4 separate regions of the Homo sapiens genome follow, and all the other regions are linked to region 1. The links are contacts of gene promoters, found by promoter capture Hi-C in blood cells and fetal thymus (Javierre and others, 2016). All regions are on one chromosome and are shown on one strand. The core of a region is centred on a gene start or on the middle of the fragment in contact, and the rest is flanking DNA. Distances in the headings are between cores, read along the strand shown.

The links. Contacts are between HindIII fragments. The CHiCAGO score rates a contact against its expected background, and 5 or more counts as called.
Region 2: a fragment that was not itself captured here is called in contact with the fragment with the promoter of CRTC3-AS1 in region 1 in 1 of 17 cell types (activated CD4 T cells); the score reaches 5.2 in activated CD4 T cells.
Region 3: a contact is called between a fragment that was not itself captured here and the fragment with the promoter of CRTC3-AS1 in region 1, in 7 of 17 cell types (megakaryocytes, endothelial precursors, total B cells and 4 more). The highest score is 5.8, in megakaryocytes.
Region 4: a contact is called between a fragment that was not itself captured here and the fragment with the promoter of CRTC3-AS1 in region 1, in 7 of 17 cell types (fetal thymus, naive CD4 T cells, activated CD4 T cells and 4 more). The highest score is 9.2, in fetal thymus.

The regions. Positions count from the first base shown.
Region 1 is chr15:90,715,677-90,718,550 of GRCh38, forward strand. CRTC3-AS1 (CRTC3 antisense RNA 1) reads right to left here and starts at 1,464. Exons shown (of 4, transcript NR_120372.1): 1 at 1,305-1,464. BLM (BLM RecQ like helicase) reads left to right here and starts at 1,670. Exons shown (of 22, transcript NM_000057.4): 1 at 1,670-1,764. The HindIII fragment of the contact is 2,609 bases long and covers 1-1,664 here.
Region 2 is chr15:90,483,635-90,486,508 of GRCh38, forward strand. IQGAP1 (IQ motif containing GTPase activating protein 1) reads left to right here. Exons shown (of 38, transcript NM_003870.4): 30 at 586-718; 31 at 2,396-2,498. Among named protein-coding and RNA genes, the nearest start is that of CRTC3, 45 kb to the right of the region's middle. The HindIII fragment of the contact is 7,118 bases long and covers 1-2,874 here.
Region 3 is chr15:90,926,236-90,929,109 of GRCh38, forward strand. No RefSeq gene overlaps it. Among named protein-coding and RNA genes, the nearest start is that of HDDC3, 4.9 kb to the right of the region's middle. The HindIII fragment of the contact is 3,766 bases long and covers 1-2,874 here.
Region 4 is chr15:90,560,147-90,563,020 of GRCh38, forward strand. All of the region lies in intron 2 of CRTC3 (CREB regulated transcription coactivator 3), which reads left to right. Among named protein-coding and RNA genes, the nearest start is that of CRTC3, 32 kb to the left of the region's middle. RefSeq lists an enhancer at 2,735-2,874. The HindIII fragment of the contact is 514 bases long and covers 1,209-1,722 here.

The DNA.
Region 1 (2,874 bases), core at 214-2,713:
TTTCTGGATATCTCATTCATTAATGAGTTAAATAAAATCTCTAACATTTATTTTATATCTGTATTATATTTGATATTAAAATTATTCTTCAACAGTAGTATACAGTTATATGAATAAGCTGCAATTTATCTATTCATCTATTGGTGGACATCTGGGTTTTTTCCCTTTGGCTATTATGAATAAAGCTGCTATGAGTCTTTTGGTGAATAAAGGCATTCATTTTTTGGGGTAAATATCTAGAAATGGGATTTCTGGGGTATAGGGTAGGGGTAAATTTGATTTCAGTAGAGACTGATGTTTCCAAAGTGGTTGTACCATTTTACACTCCCATCAACACTGTATGAGAGTCCCATTTCTGCATCTTTGCAACTAAGGGAATTGTCAGTCTTTTCATTTCAGCTATTCTATGGAGTGTTTAATAGTATCATATTTTGGTTTCAATTTACCATAGAAGATTTTCAGGAGGGAGGTAACTTGAACAGATTTTTACATTTTAGAAAACTCTTTCTGCGTATTATGTGGAGAATGATTATTTGTATACCAAAGTTCATAGCAGCATTATTCACAATAGCCAAAAGGTGGGAATAACCAAGCATCCATTTATATGGATGAATGGATAAACAAAATGTAGTATACATGTATAATGGAATATTATTTAGCCTCAAGAAGGAAGAAATTCTGATACATGCTACAACATAGATGCTCCTTGAAGACATTATGCTAAGTGAAATAAGCCAATCAGAAAAGAGCAATTATTGTATGATTCAATTTATATGCGGTACCTCGCACTTACAGACAGAAAGTGCAATATCGGCTATAAGGGGTTGTGAGAAACGGGTAACGGGGAGTTACTGTGTAACAGGCAGATTTTCTATTTGGGATAATGAAAAAGTTCTGGAGATGGATAGTGGTGATGGTTTCACAACAATGTGAATGTACTTAATGCCAGTGAACTGTACACTTAAAAATGGTGAATTTTATGTTAGATAGATTTTATCACACACACAAAGAGGAGGGAGGGCGGGAGGGAAGGAGAGAGGGAAGGAAGTAGAGAGGGGAGAAGAGAGGAAGAAAGGAAAGAAAGTAAGATCTGGCATCACAGGGCCCACATTCCCGCGTGTCAGCAATAGGCTGAAACAGAAGCATGGTTTCTCACGTGTCCATGGAGGCATCTGAGTGTGTGCCCACTTTCCCGGTTCAATGACAATTTGCACCTGCTCGTGTAGAGGGGTACGGGTGAAACAGAGACCAGTATTATTAAGGGGATGGAGAGGAGAGACCGCCAAAACATCGCAGAGACACACCGTCGGAACCAAGAGAATGGGGTGCAGACGCCTGGCTTGGCCTGTGGGAACTGGCAAGTCTCAGCTCTCAAACGCCCGGGCTTTTCAACCCGCCACAGCCGGGTTCCAGCTGCCTACTTCCTTTAAAGCCTTCACCGACTCTAAAACACCAAAAACAAAGACCCAACTAGCTCCGGAAGCCCGAGATGTAACCGTAGTCATCTGACCCTCCCGTCCGGACTCTGATTGGGCTTTGGAGATACGCGTCCCTCCCGGCGCTGTACGGCGACCCCGCCCCAGCAGCCTGAGGGGGCGGGAACAGATGTCCGAGTGCGACAGTATTGGTCGGCTTCCCCAGGAAGCAGCCAATCGGAATAGGCAAGCTTCCGGCGGGAAGTGAGCCAGGGCTTGGCGCGGCGGCCGTGGTTGCGGCGCGGGAAGTTTGGATCCTGGTTCCGTCCGCTAGGAGTCTGCGTGCGAGGTGAGTACCGCGCGCGTAACTACGGGTCGGTCCGCATTGATCTAGCCCTGCTCTGGCGGCCCGGCCCGGAGCTGGAGGCCGCTCGGGTTCTTCCGTTTCCTGCACTGGTTCGCCTCGGCCCGCTGAGTCCTCTAGTCTGGCCAACATCCTGGGAGGACAGCAGATACATAAATACGTTCCCAAATGGGGAAACAGAGGCCCGGGGCGGGGGCGAACTCTGCCAAGGTCTCCCGGGGCGTCGGAGGCCGAGCATGGGCTAGGACCTGGCATGTTGTTGCCCATATACTCCAGTGCGTAACATGATGCCCTGCACAGAGTAATCCCAGCCCAGACCTCTGGCACTACTACCTCCGTGTCCCTCCTGAGGAACAACGAAAACACTTTGTACTTTTTCTGTGGCCTTCCATAATCACGAGCTGGGCTACTCTTGTTTTTGAGTGTCTACTGTGTGCCATGTTCCTGGCACCCTTGATCTTACAACTGTAGCTTTACGATATCCCAGCAAAGCGAAGTGCTTAAGAATACTGCATCAGATTGCTTGGGTTCGAATTCTGGCTCCTTCACATTTAGCTCTGTGTCTACTGCACGTTACTGAAACACTAAGTGTCTTGGTTTTCGTCTGTCATATGGGGGAAATGGTCTCTTCTACTTCCTGGCGTTTTTGTTAGGATTAAACGACTTAATATATGCAATAATAAATGCTTCGAAGGCTACCTGTTACATAGTACACAGTAAGGGTTCTGTTATCATTACCCAGAGAAGCGGATGAAATTGTCCCCATTTTAGACATGGAGAATCTGAAGTACAAAGAGGTTGTCTCCGTACAGAAAGAGCATTTGGTGATTAAGTGCTAGAGATACAGGATTTGAACTAAGCGCCTGATTTTAAAGTATGTCCCACAACATTAGGCTTTCTCCTATAGCCCTCACCTGTCCTTAGGTCACACAGAACTTTAGGTACCTCATGGCGTGAGATGGAGCAGGTGACTGACAGCTCCTTGTGCCACCCATGCAGATAAATAACACTGGTGTGTCACTGTCAAGATTAAGGGACAGGAATTCGAGAGACTGCATGAGAGATCAGAAGATGAAGAAGCGGGTAGGCAAAAGT
Region 2 (2,874 bases), core at 243-2,742, 230 kb before region 1:
TATTTTTATTGTTGAGGGGAAAAATAAGATTAAAAACCACCTCTCACTTTCCCCGGACTGCCATATGTAGAAGACGTGTTTGATGTGCCCAGGATTCCAGAAGATGATCCATTTACTTTGAAGAGAATTTTCATATGAAATAGATAGTAGTTAACACTTATGAAATAGATAGTAGTTAACATAAAAATAATGATGATTATGCATTTAGTACATGTTACCTTGTAATCAGAGAAGAATTGGAGAATGCTTTTAATTTTTGTAAATTAACATCTAGTTTTGAATTCAGTGCTTCAGAGCACTGTCTTAGAGATAGAATTGGTTCTCCTAATGGTGTCTGGAAACTTTTAAGTCATGGTGCAATGGTTCTTATGGGTAAAACTAAAACTACAAACTAGGTGGAGAAAGAAGTTATTCGAACCACTATCCCAAGGTTGTCAAGCACAGCAAACACACAGCACTTTCTCTTGAAGTAACTGTTGACTGGCTTCTGTTTGCACTCATTGTGTGAGAGGTTTGTGAAATGTCCTCTTGCCAACTTCATGTGTATGTCCCTTTTTGGGGGGCTGCCTCCTGTGCTTATTTCAGACGGTTTTTCCAAACTGCTTGTGATGTCCCAGAGCTTCAGGATAAATTTAATGTGGATGAGTACTCTGATTTAGTAACCCTCACCAAACCAGTAATCTACATTTCCATTGGTGAAATCATCAACACCCACACTGTAAGTATTTTTCTTTAATTACTTAATTTCATTGTCCTTAATTATTATCCCTGGCTGCTGCTTATCATCTCTGGTAGCCAGGTGTCTAACCTTCCTGTAATCTAACTGACAATGCATCTCCTTGATGTCTCTTTTTTTGCTTGTTATTCTTTTTTGTTTATTTATTTATTTTTTGAGACAGAGTCTCACTGTGTTGCCCAGGCTGGAGTGCAGTGGCGCGATCTCGGCTCACTGCAAGCTCCACCTCCTGGGTTCACACCATTCTCCTGCCTCAGCCTCCCGAGTAGCTGGGACTACAGGCACCCGCCACCGTGCCTGGCTAAATTTTTTGAATTTTTGGTAGAGACGGGGTTTCACTGTGTTAGCCAGCATGGTGTCGATATCCTGACCTCATGATCTGCCCACCTCGGCCCCCAAAAGTGCTGGGATTACAGGCGTGAGCCACCACGCCTGGCCTTTTGCTTGTTATTCTTAACAGTATCTACTGCTAAGTTTCTAAAAGGTCTTCCCAGGCCACCTGCATCAGAATCCTATGGGCTGATAGTTAAAAATGAAGTTTCCTGGACACCGCCCCAGGCCTACTGAATCAAAATCCCACTAAATTTATCTATTGCCTTAATAAAATAGTGCTTTTACTCTTCTTTCTTTTTACCCTAGCTCTCTGCGTTATTTTTCTAACATGATCTAGAATACTAGCTTTCTCTGTGTAGCCTTGGAGTGGATTTTTCCCTTGGAAGCTGGAGCTCCATGTTTCTTCAGATTTTTCAAATCATTTTTTCCCCTCTGGGGACATGGACATGTAAAACAGGAACAAGGGCATATGTTAAAATGTAAATGAAATTTCAGGTTACTGTCATTTCTGAGGGCATCACTGGGGATAATGGCACCTTGAAGACTTTGTTGAGTGCCCCTACAATAATTATAACATTGATTTGGTATACTTTTCTCTGAATTAAATCATGTCATACACTGGAAACATTAAGTAAAAGCGTGCACGTGACTTATTTGAACTGGCAGTAGGGTACATTGATGACTTTGGGTATTGAACTTTGAGTTTCAGTGTTTTGTGGGTTTTTTGTGTTTGTTTGTTTTGTTTTGTTTTTTTGAGATGGAGTCTTGCTCTGTCACTCAGGCTGGAGTGCAATGGCGCAATCTTGGCTCACTGCAACCTCCACCTACTGGGTTCAAGCAATTCTTCTGCATCAGCCTCCCTAGTAGCTGGGATTACAGGCACACACCAGCACGCCCAGCTAATTTTTGTATTTTTAGTAGAGACAGGGTTTCATCATGTTGTCCAGGCTGGTCTTGAACGCCTGACCTCAGGTGATCCACCCGCCTTGGCTTCCCAAAATGCTAGAATTACAGACGTGAGCCACTGCACCCAGCCAGTGTTCTTTCTCAAACAGGGCACATTTGAATCCTTTATGGCCATGAGGTTAAGAGAATACCAGTATTTCCTCTTCTTATATCATAACATAAGTCATTCAACAGAGCCTGGTGTGGTGCCTTATATATCATATTGTTTATTTGGGTTAGTTTGCTGAGGATTTGCTTGTTGTTTCTTTGAATATAGGAACTTTGTTGGAACCTCTTTGTGCAGATCATTGTTAGACATTCTAGGGAGGGACGGGCTGAAGAGTTGAATGTATAAATGGAGTTGATCATTGGTGTTTGCAGCTCCTGTTGGATCACCAGGATGCCATTGCTCCGGAGCACAATGATCCAATCCACGAACTGCTGGACGACCTCGGCGAGGTGCCCACCATCGAGTCCCTGATAGGTAGAGTTCTAACTTTTGCCTGGAAGATCAAAAGGGAATGTGACAGAAAAGTGTTGTAATTGTCACCTCCTCTATTTTTTGCACTATACCAAACTCTGGATATACATTGAGAAATAAAATAGATGTGATCCTGATAGTTTCATAAGAGAGAAAACAACAACAACAACAAAAGCCCAGATGTGATCAATATCTATAAGGAACTGGAGTCAGAGGAAAAGATCATTTTAAACGCAGATACATACTGCCAGCTTGTGTTTTTTTAAAAAAATTGCAGATACATAAATTAAAAGTCCTCTAAAGGAAAGAATTTTTTTGTTTGTTTGTTATGAGACAGGGTCTCCCTCTGTTGCCCAGGCTGAAGTACAGTGGTGCAGTC
Region 3 (2,874 bases), core at 240-2,739, 210 kb after region 1:
GAGCCGAGATCGCACCACTGCACTCCAGCCTGGGTGACAGAGCAAGACTCCATCTCAAAAAAAATAGATAGCTGGGCGCGGTGGCTCACCCCTGTAATCCCAGCACTTTGGGAGGCCGAGGCGGGCGGATCATGGGGTCAGGAGATCGAGACCATCCTGGCTAACATGGTGAAACCTTGTCTCTACTAAAAGTACAAAAAATTAGCCGGGCATGGTGGCGGGCGCCTGTAGTCTCAGCTACTTGGGAGGCTGAGGCAGGAGAATGGCATGAACCCGGAGGCAGAGGTTTTAGTGAGCCGAGATCGCGCCACTGCACTCCAGCCTGGGCGACAGAGTGAGACTCCGTCTCAAAACAACAACAACAACAACAAACAAACAAATAAATAAATAAACAGGCCAGGTGCAGTGGCTCATGTCTATAATCCCAGTACTTTGGGAGGCCAACGTGGGCAGATCACTTGAGGTCAGGAGTTTGAGACTAGCCTGGCCAACGTGGTGAAACCCTGTCTCTACTAAAAATACAAAAAAACCCAAAAACCAGAAAAATCAAAATGTAGCGGGGCATGCTGGTGTGTGCCTATAGCCTGTAATCCCAGCTACTTGGAAGGCTGAGGCAGAAGAATCGCTTGAACCTGGGAGATGGAGGTTGCAAATAGCCAAGATCATGCCACTGCACTTCATCCTGAGCGACAGAGCACGACTCCGTCTCAAAAAAATTAAAACAATTTAAAAAACCTCGTGTAGATATATTGCAAATTACGTAAGATAAAACCTAAAGGCCAGGCACGGTGGCTCACGCCTGTAATTCCAGCACTTTGGGAGGCCAAGGTGGGTGGATCACCTGAGGTCAGGAGTTTGAGATCGGCCTGGCCCACATGGCAAAACCCTGTCTGTACTAAAAATACAAAAATTAGCTGGGCTGGTGGCATGCGCCTGTAGTCAAAGCTACTCAGGAGGCTGAGGCAGAAGAATAGCTTAAACCAGGGAGGTGGAGGTTGCAGTTAGCTGAGATCATGCCACTGCACTCCAGCCTTGGCAATAGAGTGAGTGGGATTCACTCTCAAAAGAGAAAGGCAAATATAAGAACTTATTGAGAAACTGCAGGAATGAATATAACCTGTTGTACAACCATGGTTTAACTGTAGATTTTTAGCCTAGCTTTTTTTTTTTTTTTTTTTTTTTTGAGACGGAGTCTAGCTCTGTCGCCCAAGCTGGAGTGCAGTGGCGTGATCTCGGCTCACTGCAACCTCTGCCTCCCAGGTTCAAGTGATTCTCCTGCCTCAGCCTCCCAAGTAGCTGGGACTAAAGGCGCCCGCCACCACGCCTGGCTAATTTTTTGTAGTTTTAGTAGAGACAGGGTTTCACCGTGTTAGCCAGGATGGTCTTGATCTCCTGACCTCATGATCCACCCGCCTCGGCCTCCCAAAGTGTTGGGATTACAGGCGTGAGCCACCACACTGGCCTTTTTTTTTTTTTTTTTTTTTGAGACGGAGTCTTGCTCTGTCTCCCAGGCTGGAGTGCAGTGGCATGACCTTGGCTCACTGCAACCTCCGCCTCCTGGGTTCAAGTGATTCTCCTGCCTCAGCCTCCCGAGTAGCTGGGACTACAGGTGCCCGCCACCATGCCCGGCTAATTTTTTTGTATTTTTAGTAGAGACGGGGTTTCACCATGTTAGCCAGGATGGTCTCGATCTCCTGACTTCGTGATCCACCCGCCTGGGCCTCCCAAATTGCTGGGATTACAGGCGTGAGCCTCTGCACCCAGCCTGCCTAGTGTGTTTCTTTGGAACTTATCAAAATGTCTCTGGAGGCCGGGCACGATGGCTTCATGCCTGTAATCCCAGCACTTTGGGAGGCCAAGGCAGGCGGATAACTTGAGGTCAGGAGTTTGAGACCAGCCTGGCCAGCATGGTGAAACCCTGTCTCTACTAGAAATACAAAAATTAGCCGGGCGTGGTGGCACACATCTGTAATCCCAGCTACTAGGGAGGCTGTGGCATAAGAATCGCTTGAACCCAGGAGGCAGAGGTTGCAGTGAGCCGAGATTGCGCCACTGTACTCCAGCCTGGGTGACAGAGCGAGAATCCATCTTAAAAAAAAAAAAAGGCTCTGGAACATTTCATTTCCTGTTTTGTTACTGACCTGTGACTCTGTAAAAGTCTACTTTCGCAATTTGGATTAATAATTTTATGAATGCAAATTGGAGATGCTGTTCAAAAAAAAAAAAATAGAAAAGTCTTACAAAGGAAAGACAATCACAGTGATAGCAGACATCTAGTTAGCTACAGTAGACACCTGGAGTCCATTCAAACCTAGAGAAAACTCAGCCTTGAATTTGCTATCAGCTACACCATTCAAGAGCACGGGGGAAATGAAGACATTTTCAGACATGCAAAGACTCAACAGTTTGCAATGTACAAAACTTTAGTGGAAGAAAGTAGGTGTACTTAAGCAAAAAGAGAATTTGTCTAGGGGCATAAACTAATGAGAGGGAGGGTACACCTAAATACTGGCTATAAATGTAATACTAGTTTATAGTTTAAAAAGAGGCAGGAACTAAAATTCTAGAAAGCAATATTGTGAAGAGTTATTCAAGGCTGGGCACAGTGGCTCACGCCTGTAATCCCAGCACTTTGGGAGGCTGAGGTGGGCAGATCACCTGAGGTCAGGAGTTCGAGACCAGTGTGGCCAACTTAGTGGAACGCCATCTCTACTAAAAAATAAAAAATAAAAAAATCCAAAAACAGGTACTAAGAGGACAGACCTTGCATCAAATGGTGCTAGGAAAACTGGACATCCACAAGCAAAACCATACATCATATATTTTGTATATGGTGTATATACAAAAAAATTACACCATATACAAAAATTAACC
Region 4 (2,874 bases), core at 216-2,715, 160 kb before region 1:
TTAGCGCTCCAGGTTTGGTGGTTGATCAAATACTTGAGAATAGGGATTTATTCATTCAGCTAGTATTTGTTGAGGGCTGGAACTCTGTGGGATGTCCATTCAGTCAGGACACCTCTAAATCCTGACTTCCAGTTTACGTCACTGATGATGGCTCTCATCCTTGGTTCTACCAGATTCTTGAAAGAGAATGTGTTTTCTCAGAGCCAAGTAGACCCAAACATTTCCCAGACTTTGGCCACATAATCAGAAATTTCAAAAGAGTTCTGGAATTTGTGGGCTTAGCTCCAAGTTACCAGGCATCCGTTGTCTTCCCTGTGGGCAGAATTCGCTTTTAGCTTACTCCACCCTCCTCAGCTACGCAGCATGATTGGGGCAGACGATGAATACTTCAGATATCCCCTGTGGGGTTAACTCCAGAGGCAGCCTCAGAAACTAGACACATAATTCATATGGTCAAAACCTGGCAGGCTCTTCTGAAATCGTGTGACTTCCTATCAGGCCACCAGCTCTGCAGATCCTCAAAGGTCTGGCTGTCAGAACAATAGGGAATGAGAGCAGCGCCCAGATGCTGCCTGCTGGAGCTGCAGGTCCTGTTTGAGTCTGAACAATAAAAGTCCTGGAATGAATTACCAAGGCTCCTGATTGCACCCTGCAGGTTCAGGTTTAGTTTGTGGAGATGTCTCACATAAGAACTGTCTTGTAAGCCGCTTGGGGGGTTCAACAAAATTGGTCAACAAAATTTAATACCATACAAGCCCTTTTCTTGATCAAGCAATTTAGTAAGTCTCTGTCATAAGTCTCTATGACCTGCCATCCAATATGTCAAAATAAACAAAATTTTCATGTTGATGGTCACAAGTGCAGTCCCTAGAGTGGGGATCTGGTGACCACTTCCACCACTAACTAGCACTGGATCGTAGACAAGATCGTTAGTCTCTCTGTGTCTCAGCTCACTCATCTGCAAGATGTGGCTACTAATAGTACCTAAGATAGAGCTATTGGGAGGATTAAGTTAGGTAATGCATGTAAATCCTTAGAATAATGCCCAGCACAGTTGTTGTTCAATACATATTGCAAAGTTCCTAGTATAAACTCCCTGTTGCAGCCTTCTAATTTGACTTCAATAGATTGTTGGTACCATTTGCCTCTTTCTTTGCAGGTATCCTACCTAGGCCTAGAGAACTAAGCTTTTGCTGTTCATTATATGAAGCTTCTTAAATGTCATACAGGCTAGTTGCATCCTACTAATTCTTCACAGACTAGATAAAAATACTTTTGCTGAAGTCTTAATCGGCCTGTCCTGAAGTCAACCAGGCTGTATGTTAGTGCCTTGACTCAGTGCAGCTTTCAAGAGAGGCAGAAAGAATACCCACAGAGAAGGCACATGTGGGCGGTGGCAGTGTAGGACCAGGAAAGAAGCTAGGTCTCTATATTCCCTCGCATTTTGAATCTGTGTTAAATTCAATCATATTAGTATGAAGCAATCCTCTTACCTATCTCCTTAATCCAGCCTCTGACTGCCAGCTCACAAAAGAGGGAGAAGAGGCACTACATTTAAAGTAGTGATTATCTCTAACTAGAATTTTAAGTCCCTACATGTTTTGGCTGTAGAACCAGCCAAAGTTTTGTTCCAATTCCCTACAAAATTTCACAATAGTCAGGAGTTAGAATTGGTCCCTATGTTATGAAACAGCTAGTTTTTATACTTTAAACTTAAAATGAAGCTTTAGTTGTTTATTATTACTGTGGATATTTTCCAAGAGACAGAATAACATCTGTGGAAGATTCTACACAGGCCTTGATGCCAGACATTGTAATTATTTCCCTGCTCAAAGGCAATAGTCAGTGCCTCAAGGAACTCCCTGGCTATAAGCAGTTGGCTGCCTCGACAACAGATAGCTAATGTCTTAGCTCTTTTCTGTCTCTACCGCCAGCCTCTTGGGGATGTGACTTGAGAAAGCTCTCCCCTCCCCATTTTCTCCTGTAACCTCTTTGGAGGAAGTCACCAGGGTAACCACTTTCTTTTATGCTAGTTTTCTTGAGTGCAAGGGAAAACACTTCCCCACAGACATATGACAGAAGTTTAAGAGTGGTGAGGAGAAGAACACGAACAGTTACTGAGTACCTGAGCTATGCTTTGTGTACCTGATATCATTGAGTTCCCACATCAACCTTCTGAGATAGGCATTATCATCCCCATTTTACTGATGCTTAAACAGTAACATGCCCAAGGTCACACAAGTGGCAAGTGACAGTCAGGACTCAAACCCAGGTTTATCTTTCTCGGGCCTTTGCTCTTATTTTGCAAATTAAGCAAGTGTAGACACACAAAACCAATTTGTTTTTACCTAGGAAACGTGTTTTATGCTTTGTTTTTCTCAGTCTGGATAGATGCCGTTTTCTAGTCCCCTGGAACCATCGTATGCCCAGTTTAGTACCACTTTTGTTTGGTTTCTCGTCTTAGAATATATTCTGCTTATTCACTCCCCCGGCCACCTGAGAAATCTTTTTACTACTTTTAGTCCAAATCAAACTTTCCTTCCCTTGACTACCTAGGAAGTCTCTCCTTGGGTGAGTCTTAACTCGCCTGAACTGAGAGTCTCACCCTGGAACTTGGTTAAGAAAGGCCAGAGTTGGGAGGCAACAGCCTGGATGGAAGAGGGGGGTCAGTTGACACTGGAGGGGGCAAGCCAGACCAGCCGCAAGCAGGAGCCAAAAGGTCAGAAAGCCAGTGAGAATGGGGTGGGCCAACAGGAGCAGACCAGGCCACACAGGCTGTGACTCCCCCTTGCAGTGGCTGCTGGGCACTGGCCATGCCTGTGCTTGTCTCTCTCAGTATCTCTTACTCTGCCATCTTGTCATTCATGAAATTGC